Linked DNA regions of Homo sapiens: region 1 is linked to region 2. Evidence: promoter capture Hi-C in 16 types of primary human blood cells and fetal thymus (Javierre and others, 2016). All regions are on one chromosome and are shown on one strand. The core of a region is centred on a gene start or on the middle of the fragment in contact, and the rest is flanking DNA. Distances in the headings are between cores, read along the strand shown. Region 1 holds the start of LINC00102 (long intergenic non-protein coding RNA 102). Region 2 holds the start of PPP2R3B (protein phosphatase 2 regulatory subunit B''beta).

What was found. The method cuts DNA at HindIII sites, captures the fragments that hold promoters and counts their contacts. A CHiCAGO score of 5 or more calls a contact.
Region 1: a contact is called between a fragment that was not itself captured here and the fragment with the promoter of PPP2R3B in region 2, in 1 of 17 cell types (total CD4 T cells). The highest score is 5.2, in total CD4 T cells.

Annotation. Positions count from the first base shown.
Region 1 is chrX:2,612,775-2,617,482 of GRCh38, reverse strand. LINC00102 (long intergenic non-protein coding RNA 102) reads left to right here and starts at 2,136. Exons shown (of 2, transcript NR_037842.1): 1 at 2,136-2,766; 2 at 3,787-4,492. It also overlaps the pseudogene CD99P1. The HindIII fragment of the contact is 2,699 bases long and covers 521-3,219 here.
Region 2 is chrX:385,495-390,328 of GRCh38, reverse strand. It overlaps PPP2R3B (protein phosphatase 2 regulatory subunit B''beta), which reads left to right and starts at 3,422. Exons shown (of 13, transcript NM_013239.5): 1 at 3,422-3,961. The coding sequence starts at 3,638. The HindIII fragment of the contact is 20,425 bases long and covers 1-4,834 here.

The DNA.
Region 1 (4,708 bases), core at 621-3,120, 2.2 Mb before region 2:
GACACTCTGAAGACAACGAAAAAACATAGAAAAGGAGACAAATTTTAAAATCACTTACAAATAATATGTCGGTCTTCTCAGAAACATTAAGAAATGAAGAGAAAACAATTGGAAGTTCACAAGGGTTCATCATTCAGTGGAGAGTAAGAGAGAATGCACAAAAATGTTGCTATAGTTCAGAAACAGAGAGACAAATAGCGCACATAAAATCGTACTCACCAAAACAAATCAATACTGACGGGAAAACACCTTAGAAATCCATTTAAATAAATCACCAGGAGAAAAAGGCACACAGAAGAATCTGCTCGATTTTACAAATATTTTAGCACTCTATAAATCAATTCATAGTTGTAAGTAATGCAAATGAAAAGAAAAAGATGGTTTTCTTTTTCCCAAGAAGGAAGAGAGACAGTGATAAAATGGTTCTGTTAAAAGGAAAAATGTGTTACACAAAGGTGGAAACTCACACAAACCTAAGACAACATAAAAAAGAAAAATTCAAGCCTTGCTTATAAAAGCTTCTGTTCAAAATGTTTTCAGAGGCAACAATAAAGTGGAAACACATTTTCATAATATATTGGGCAATGTTTACTGTCTATAAATAATTCAAAAATGACTAGAAATCAGGGAGGACATACCAGAATAGAAGAATAAAAGACACAGTATCCCATACACAGAAGAAGAAGTCTCCATGGCCCACTGATGCATTGTTTTTGTTTCAAGTTTCAGAATTAAAGACGTGAAACTAAGACAAGGTTAGCATGACATTTTGCACTACTGGATAAAGATGTTTTGGTGAACACCAATATCGGAGACGGTGTGAGGAAAGGGTCATCTGCACACCCCGCCGCCATCAAAATAAATTGGTGCAATTCTGGGGCAATTTCAAAACCATGTCAGAAGCTACAAAAGTACTCACACACATCGATGTAAACAACTTGCACTCTAGAAATATATCTTCAAACATAAAGGAAAGTGCATGAAGGGCAGTCAAATTTGCTTTGTAATTGATAATTCCAAAACATCAGAAGAAACATAACTTCAGAATTAGGGATTACTTAAAGAAACCAAAGTATGTAATTAAGTCTGTAGTATAATAATGTAAAGTCGTATGATACAAACGATTAAATGACATGAGAAAATGGTCAAGGAATATTCTTATGCCAATAATAACATAACCAGCAAAAAACCATAAAAATGTCAACAGGATTTAGACCATCTGGATAGATTTCTGTGTTAAAAATTAAACAAACATGTAAAGAAAAACACTCAGTAAAAATCTAATTGTTTAAAACAAGTTGGCTTCTCCATGGGAAACACACAGATTCTTTTCCTCATATCAAGTCTACATCTAAAAGCTCTTATTCAATGATTTGGAAGTTCCATTTATCTTTGAAGTAAAATCAAGAAAAGGAAAATAAAATCCAAACCAAAAACATATTTTCGTAATCTAGGTTTTCCACTACTTGAACACTGGAATTACCTTGTAATTCAACAGTAGGAACAGGCTCACCTGAAATCTCCTCTTCTCAGATGACACGGACATCACTGCCAGGTAAACAACATAGAGACCACCCCGTAGGGTTAGAGGCTCTTATCAGTGAAACCAGGTCAGTTGGGATTTGGATCTGGCTTTGGTTTGGGGGGATTAGGTGGTGCTGGGTCACCTGTTTGTAAAACATGAGAGTTGGCGATCATCAGTGCCTTGCAGTCAAGAAAATGAAAAATCAATTTCCATGGCGACCAGAAAAGGAAATGAAAAATCAATTTGCATAGAGACCTTTCACTAAACAGGTAAAAAATGACCCTTGTTTTTGTCGTGGTGGGGATGCCCATACACATAGCCTCCTGCCAATTCCCTTCCATCATCTTCCAGCTACAGGATTTAACTTCAAGTATTTTCAAAGAAAACTAAGCCAGGTGTCCAGACCACCTCCAGAATTTGAGAGGCCCTGCACAAAATGAAAATGCAAGATTCTGTTCCAATTTTATGACGAATTTCAAGATGGCAGCTACTGAGTAATACACCAATATGGTGCCCTTGTATGCACAGGTCCCTGTGTGACATCACATGTCACATGCCCATGAAGTCTGACCTGGCCAGGGAAGTGACATTTGCCTTATATCATTCCAAAGTCTGTAACAATTTTAAAATAAAAGCCAGCATATTGGTGGGAAAAAAAACAAAAATCCAACAACAACAAAAATAAAACACAACAAGGCATATACTTCCAATATTTCCACTGTATAAACCCAATCCATGGATTATGCAAAAGAGATAAGTCTCTTGGAAATGACAGTCATTTGGTGACAATAACAAATCAGCAACAGAGGAGACTTTAACGAGTTACTCACTGTTTCCTCCCTCACCAAAGGCATCTGCTAAGTCAAAGTCTGCCCCTAAAGGAAGGAATCGGTCTGTTCATAGTAAAGCTCTGAGAAATGAGGAAGGAATGACCTCGGAAACAGATGGAGAAATCACCAGAGACCCACATGACTAAAGACTTTTCTGAATATCACACTGACTAGGATCTCATTTGAAAAAGTAAATTCCTGATCATTTTCACATCATTCTTCCCCCAGATGAAAAGAGTAAGAGATGACAGCAAGAGAAAGAGGGAGAGAGAAAGAATGTCATTTGTAAATCAACTGTGCTGCCTGGACCCAGTTGGGACTCTGAATCTGCCTGCACACAACTCTGTCCCGTTGATTCCCCATTATCTCCTCCCAGGTCCCCAACACCTTCAGCAAGGCAGACCGTAAGAGGTAGGGCAGGTGACTGTGATCTGATCTGTGACTGACGGATTCTGATCTGTGTCTGAAAAGTGGCTCTACCCACCCAGCTGGGCTCCACAAACTAATGTGACATTCATGCTAGTTTCAAAGCCAGCCTTCTAGTTCTTTTTTTTTTTTTTTTTCATATGGAGTTTTGTCCTTTTGCCTGGCTGGAGTGCAGTGGTGTGATCTCGGCTCACTGCAACCTCTGCCTCCCGGGTTCAAGCCATTCTCCTGCCTCAGCCTCCCGAGTAGCTGGGATTACAGGCATGCACCACCATGCCAGGATAATTTTTGTATTTTTAGCAGAGGCAGGGTTTCTCCATGTTGGTCAGGCTGGTCTTGAACTCCTGACCTCAAGTGATCCAGCCGCCTTGGCCTCCTAAGGTGCTGGGATTACAGGTGTGAGCCACCTTACCTGGCCCAGCCTTCTAGTTCCAAGCTTTTCAAATCCCAATTAAGGTCGAGGCACATTTTATATTGGGAGTGATAAGGGAGGCTCAAATGAAAGAAACATGAGGGGCTACATCAAAATGAATCTTTTTTTCAAAACCATATTAAAATACACAAGCAATGAATAAAAAGCACATGATTTTTCACATACATTGTATAGAAATAAGAAATCTCATGGTATGAGAACCTATGTGTTCAGAAAAAAAGTATACTAGAAGAGAAAGACACTTATTGAAATGACTTATTTTATTTAAAGGTGAATCTCTTTGGGTTTTTGTCCTAATGTCTGGAAAAAAAGTTGTCTACCATATTTACAACTCTACATATTAAAAGTTGTCCTGAGTCTTCTAGCAAAGGCCATAGAACTAAATTACAAATAAACTGTAAAGAGAACGTATAAATCTAGGAACAGGGAAAATTTTAAAAACCCATTACCAAATAACATGACCAACTTCTTAGAAAAGGTCAGAAATGAAGAGAAAAAAAATTGAAATTTAACAAAGGGTCATCATTTCATGGATTGCAAAAAATATATACACAATCTCTTCTACATGACAGAAATAAACAGAAAAATAGTGGACATGAAAATGGATTCAGAGTAACAAAAACAAGGAAAAAACACTTTAGAAACCCATTGACAGAATCAACAAGAGGAAGAGACAAATCGAATCTCAAAGAAAAAGCTCAGGCCGGCATGGTGGCTCACACCTGTAATCCCAGCACTTTGAGAGGCTGAGATGGGCGGATCACCTGAGGTCAGGGGTTCAAGATCAGCCTGGCTAACATGGCAAAACCCCGTCTCTACTGAAAATACAAGAATTTGCCGGGCATGGTGGTGCATGTTTGTAATCCTAGCTAATTGGGAGGCTGAGGCACGAGAATTGCTTGAACCCAGGAAGTGGAGGTTGCACTGAGCCAAGATCACGCCACTGCACTCCAGCCCGGGCGACAGAGAGAGACTCTGTCTCCAAAATAAAAAAAGGAAAGAAAATAAAAGAAAAAACTCAACATTGAAAACGTGTTACCATTCCTTCAATCAACCTATGGTGATAAACAATTCAAATGAAATTAAAAAGAAGGTTTTACTTCTCTGAAGAGAAGGGACAATAGCAAAATGATTCTCAATTTAAAAGGAAAAAAAGTTACAAAAAGCAGGATATCCACACAAACATAAGACACCATAAAAAAATAAACATACCACTTGTAAAACATTCCTGTTAAAAATATTCAAAGGCAAAAATAAAGTGCAAAACCATTTTCATAATAAGTGGCTGGTAATCTTTAATATTGATAAATCACTGAAGAAGGCTCATACATCAGTAGGTAGGGAGGCTGAGGCAGGCAGAACATCTGAGGTCAGGAGTTCCAGACCAGCCTGGCCAACATGGTGAAACCCCATCTCTACTAACAATACAAAAATGAGCTGGGCCTGGTGGCGGGCACCATGAATTGAAGGATCAAAGCCAAAGCATCCAATACA
Region 2 (4,834 bases), core at 2,173-4,672:
GTTGGCCAGGCTGGTCTCGAACTCCTGACCTCAGGTGATCTGCCTGCCTCAGCTTCCCAAAGTGCTGGGATGACAGGTGTGAGCCACCACGTCTGGCTAATTTTTGTATTTTTGTAGAGACGGGGTTTCAGCATGTTGGTCAGGCTGGTCTCGAACTCCTGACCTCAGGTGATCCTCCCACCTCAGCTTCCCAAAGTGCTGGGATAACAGGTGTGAGCCACGATATCTGGCTGCTTTTTAAAATTTAATGCTTTTAGGGACAGAGTCTTTCATTCCTGCCTCGGCTGGAGAGCGGTGGTGAGATCTCGGCTCACTGAAGCCTCAACCTCCCAGGCTCAAACGATCCTCCTACCTCAGCCTCCCGAGTAGCTGGGACCACAGGCACACGCCAGGATGCTCAGCTAATTTTTAAATATTCTCTAGAGATGGGGCTCGCCATGTTGCCAAGGCTGGTCTTGACCTCCTGGGCTTAAACAATCCTCCTGCCTCGGCCTCCCAAAGTGCTGGGATGACAGGTGTGAGCCACCATGCCTGGCTAATTTTTGTATTTTTGTAGAGACGGGGTTTCACCATGTTGGCCAGGCTGGTCTCGAACTCCTGACCTCAGGTGATCCACCACCTCGGCCTCCCAAAGTGCTGGGATGACAGGTGTGAGCCACCGTGCCTGGCTAATTTTTGTATTTTTGTAGAGACGGGGGTTTCACCATGTTGGCCAGGCTGGTCTTGAACCCCTGACCTCAGGTGATCCACCGTCTCGGCCTCCCAAAGTGCTGGGATGACAGGCATGAGCCACTGCAATCTCCCGGCCTGCCCTCACCTTTCTCTCCCCAGGACAATTCTGGTGGCCACCCACCACCCCTGCAAGACGGACAGACCCGAATGGGCAGGGCGTCCATCCGGCTGTGGAGCAGCTTGGATAATTGCAGCTGGCCACATCCCAGCAAACTCTGCAACACCTCAGGCCCTGCCAGCCTTGGGGGCCCGACAGCACCTCTTTGTTCTCCCAGAGCAAAGCCTGCACGGAGTGGGCCCCCGGGCCCCAGCGCAGACTGAAGGCGCATTCTGTTTCTGCCCTGAGTTGATTTCTGTCCTGTTGGCCCTGGGCCTCACTACACTGTGCCCCAGTAACCTGGCAGAGAAAGGCCTCTTGTGCAGGCATTCAAAGGAAACCCTTTCCCCTCAAAACTGCAGTGATGCTTCCAACAGTGACTCGCAGCTCATCGAAACACCCAGAATGAAAAGCACGTTTGTTCCTTGAAAAGACGTCTGTGTCCGATACATACTCAAACAGAGAACTGTATTAATATATTCACTTCCCTCCAGAAATCACAGCATCGCACACACACACAAACGGTTGCTTCCCAATTAGGAAAAATAACTTCACAGAATTCCTGCGTGATGGCGCTCTTCTGACCAAGTACACTCGGATTTTTATATCCAATCACGAAACACAAACTGAAATTCAAATCATTATGTACACAACACAAAACTATCGTTTATGAGTGATTTAAATCGGGTGCGGTGGCTCACGCCTGTAATCCCAACGCTTTGGGAGGCAGAGACAGAGGCAAAGGCAGGAAGATTGCTTGAGGCCAGGAGTGTGAGACCAGCAACACCTCGTCTCTATAAACAATAAAATTAAAAATGAGCCAGGCATGGTGGCGCATGCCTGTTGTCCCAGCTGCTTGGAAGGCTGAGGTGGGAGGATCGCTTGAGCCAGGAGATCAAGGCTGCACTCAGCTAAGATCGCAGCCTGGGTGACGGAGCAAAACCCTGTCTCATACGAACAAAAAGAGTTATTTAGGCCGGGCGTGGTAGCTCACGCCTGTAATCCCAGCACTTTGGGAGGCCGAGGCGGGTGGATCACTTGAGGTCAGGAGTTCGAGACCATCCTGGCTAATACGGTGAAACCCTGTCTCTACCAAAAATACAAAAATTAGCCAGGCGTGGTGGCGGGCGCCTGTAATCCCAGCTACTCGGGAGGCTGAGGCAGGAGGATCCCTTGAACCCGGGAGGCGGAGGTTACAGTGAGCTGAGATCTTGCCATCGCACTCCAGCCTGGGCGACAGAGCGAGACTCCAACTCAAAAAAAAAATAAAACTAAAAAAAGAGTTATTTTTTTTTTTTTTGAGACAAAGTCTGGCTCTGTCGCCCAGGCTGGAGTGCAATGGTGTGATCTCAGCTCACTGCAACCTCCACCTCCTGGGTTCAAGCAATTCTCCCGCCACAGCCTCCCGAGTAGCTGGGACTACAGGCACACGCTACTATGCCCGGCTAATTTTTCTATTTTTAGTAGAGATGGTGGGGGCGGTTTCACTATGCTGGCCAGGCTGGTCTCGAACTCCTGACTTCGTGATCTGCCCGCTTCAGCCTCCCAAAGTGCCGGGATTACAGACTTGAGCCACCGCGCCCGGCCAAGGGTTACTTATTGAGTCTGGCTCGATTTATGCAGCTCAGAAGTAGGAGAACCTGGCTCATAAAAGACCTTGAAATTACTCTCTAACAGGGTGCAACACCAGGTGAAACCCTATTTTGATAAAAAATGAATAAAAAGCGGGGCAAGATGTAAAGGAAACAGGTGCATGTGTGCCAGACAGATGATAATGCAGTGTTTTTATGGATACTGTTAAAAGCAGAAACAAAAACGACCATTGGGTAAAGTTATTTAACTAATGTCACCTCCCTGGACGTGGATGATTTTTGCAATTTTCAACGCACTTCACGCTCATCCCTGAACACCAACGTTTAAAGGGGTCCAACTCCTCCAACCTGTCTCTACTGTTTGATAAGCAAAGCTAAAGTAAACGGGGCCCTTTGGGTCCCAGGTAGCCCGCTGTTATTGAAAAGTTTGATCTTTTCCTCGCGCGCTCCCGTAGGACGCACGCTCGCTCCCGAGCTCGGCGGGCGCGCACCCCGCATGCTCGCTCGTTCCCGGTGCCTCCCACTGCGCAGGCGCACTCCCGTCCTCCAGCCCCACCCGCTCACACACCTCCCAGCCTCTGGCTTGCGCCCCGCGGGCAGCCATTGCGCACGCTCACCCGACCGGCCTCCCGAACTCCGCTCCTCCACCGCTATGCACGGCGCATGCTCCATGCGGAGGTTCCACCCTCTCCTCGCTCTGGCAGGCACGCATTGCGCATGCTCGCATTTCCGCAGCTCTAGGACTGCCACGCCGCCATGGGCCGCGCCTCTAAAAATCCTAAACGCAGAAAGAGCTCGGGCGGTACGGCCGCCACAGCCCCTCCCTCGTCCTCACCGCAGCCGCTCGGCCCCACCAAAGCCTCCTGCAAAAGCTCCGAGGGCCGCGGGGCGCGCGTGGCTAGCGGCGGCGTCGCCTCGTGATGACATCGTCGCGATGACGCGACGCAGTGACGTGAACGCGGGCGCCCTTGTTTGGGAGCGCGGCCGGCGCGCCCGTTTTGAAGCTGCCCTGAGCAGCGCGGGCCGGACCGCGCCCCCTCCTCGGTCCCCGCGCCCCGCGAGTCCGCGCAGTTCCCGAGGCGCGGGCCCTGTTCCCTGCGCCGCGCCCCCTCAGCGGGCCGTGCTCGCATCACCGAGGTCGGTCCGGGGCGGACCGAAGCCCCCGGGGCGGGGCGGGGCGCGGGCGTCCGGGGGCGCCGCGGGCCCAGCCCCCGCCATGCCGCCCGGCAAAGTGCTGCAGCCGGTCCTGAAGATGAAGGTGGACGAGCTGTTCCTGTACTGGCTCAGCGAGGCCAGCACGCAGCGGATGCTGCAGGACTGCCTGCGCCGGATCAAGGCGCCCGGGCGGGACCAGCCGACCCCGGGGGACGGGGAGCAGCCCGGGGCCTGGCCCACAGCCCCGCTCGCCGCCCCCCGGCCCAGCGGGCTCGAACCCCCGGGAACCCCCGGGCCGGGCCCTGCGCTGCCCCTGGGCGCCGCCTCCAGCCCCAGGAACGCGCCCCACGTTCGAGGCACCCGTAGATCCGCAGGGACGAGAGTAGTAAGTTACTCTTCCTTCTGCTAACAACTGCGCAGGTGGCTCTGGTCGCATAGTGGGCGTGTGGCTGCGCGATGGAGGCTGGTGGGCGAGCGTCAGACCCCAAAACGGTTTCATATTGAGTCTGTTCCCCGCCCCGACCCCCCCCACCACACACATACAGACAAGAAAGTCCCACGTACTGAACATTCCGTCATTGACAGTTGTTAACCTAAAAATCACACAATTTATAAAGGTAGAAAGGCTTCCTATTTTATTTTATTTTATTATTTTAATTTGTTTTAATTTTGAGACAGAGTTTTGCTCTGTTGCCCAGGCTGGAGTACGATGGCGCGATCTTGGCTCACTGCAACCTCTGCCTCCCAGGTTCAAGCGATTCTCCTGCCTCAGGCTCCCGAGGAGCTGGGACTTACAGGCACGTGCCACCACGCCTGGCTGATGTTGTATTTTTAGTAGAGACTGGGTTTCCCCCATGTGGGCCAGGCTGGTCTCGAACTCCTGACCTCAAGTGATCCTCCCGCCTTGGCCTCCCAAAGTGCTGGGATTTCAGACGTGAGTCACTGCGCCTGGTCCGTTTTTTATTTATTTTACAATTCTTTGGAGACAGGGTCTTGCTCTGTCTCCTAGGCTGGAGTGCAGTGGCGCAAACACAGTTGGACTTCCTGCCTCAGCCTCCCCAGTAGCTGGGATTACAGGCGTGCACCATCACGCCAGGCTAATTTTTGTTTATTTATTTATTTATTTATTTTTGCAGAGACGAGGTCTTGCTATGTTACCTAGAGTGCTCTGGAATTCCTGGGTCCAAGCAATCCTCCCGCTTCGGCCTCCCAAAATCCCACTGTATTTCTTAGAAGAAACGCCATTTATTTCATAGAA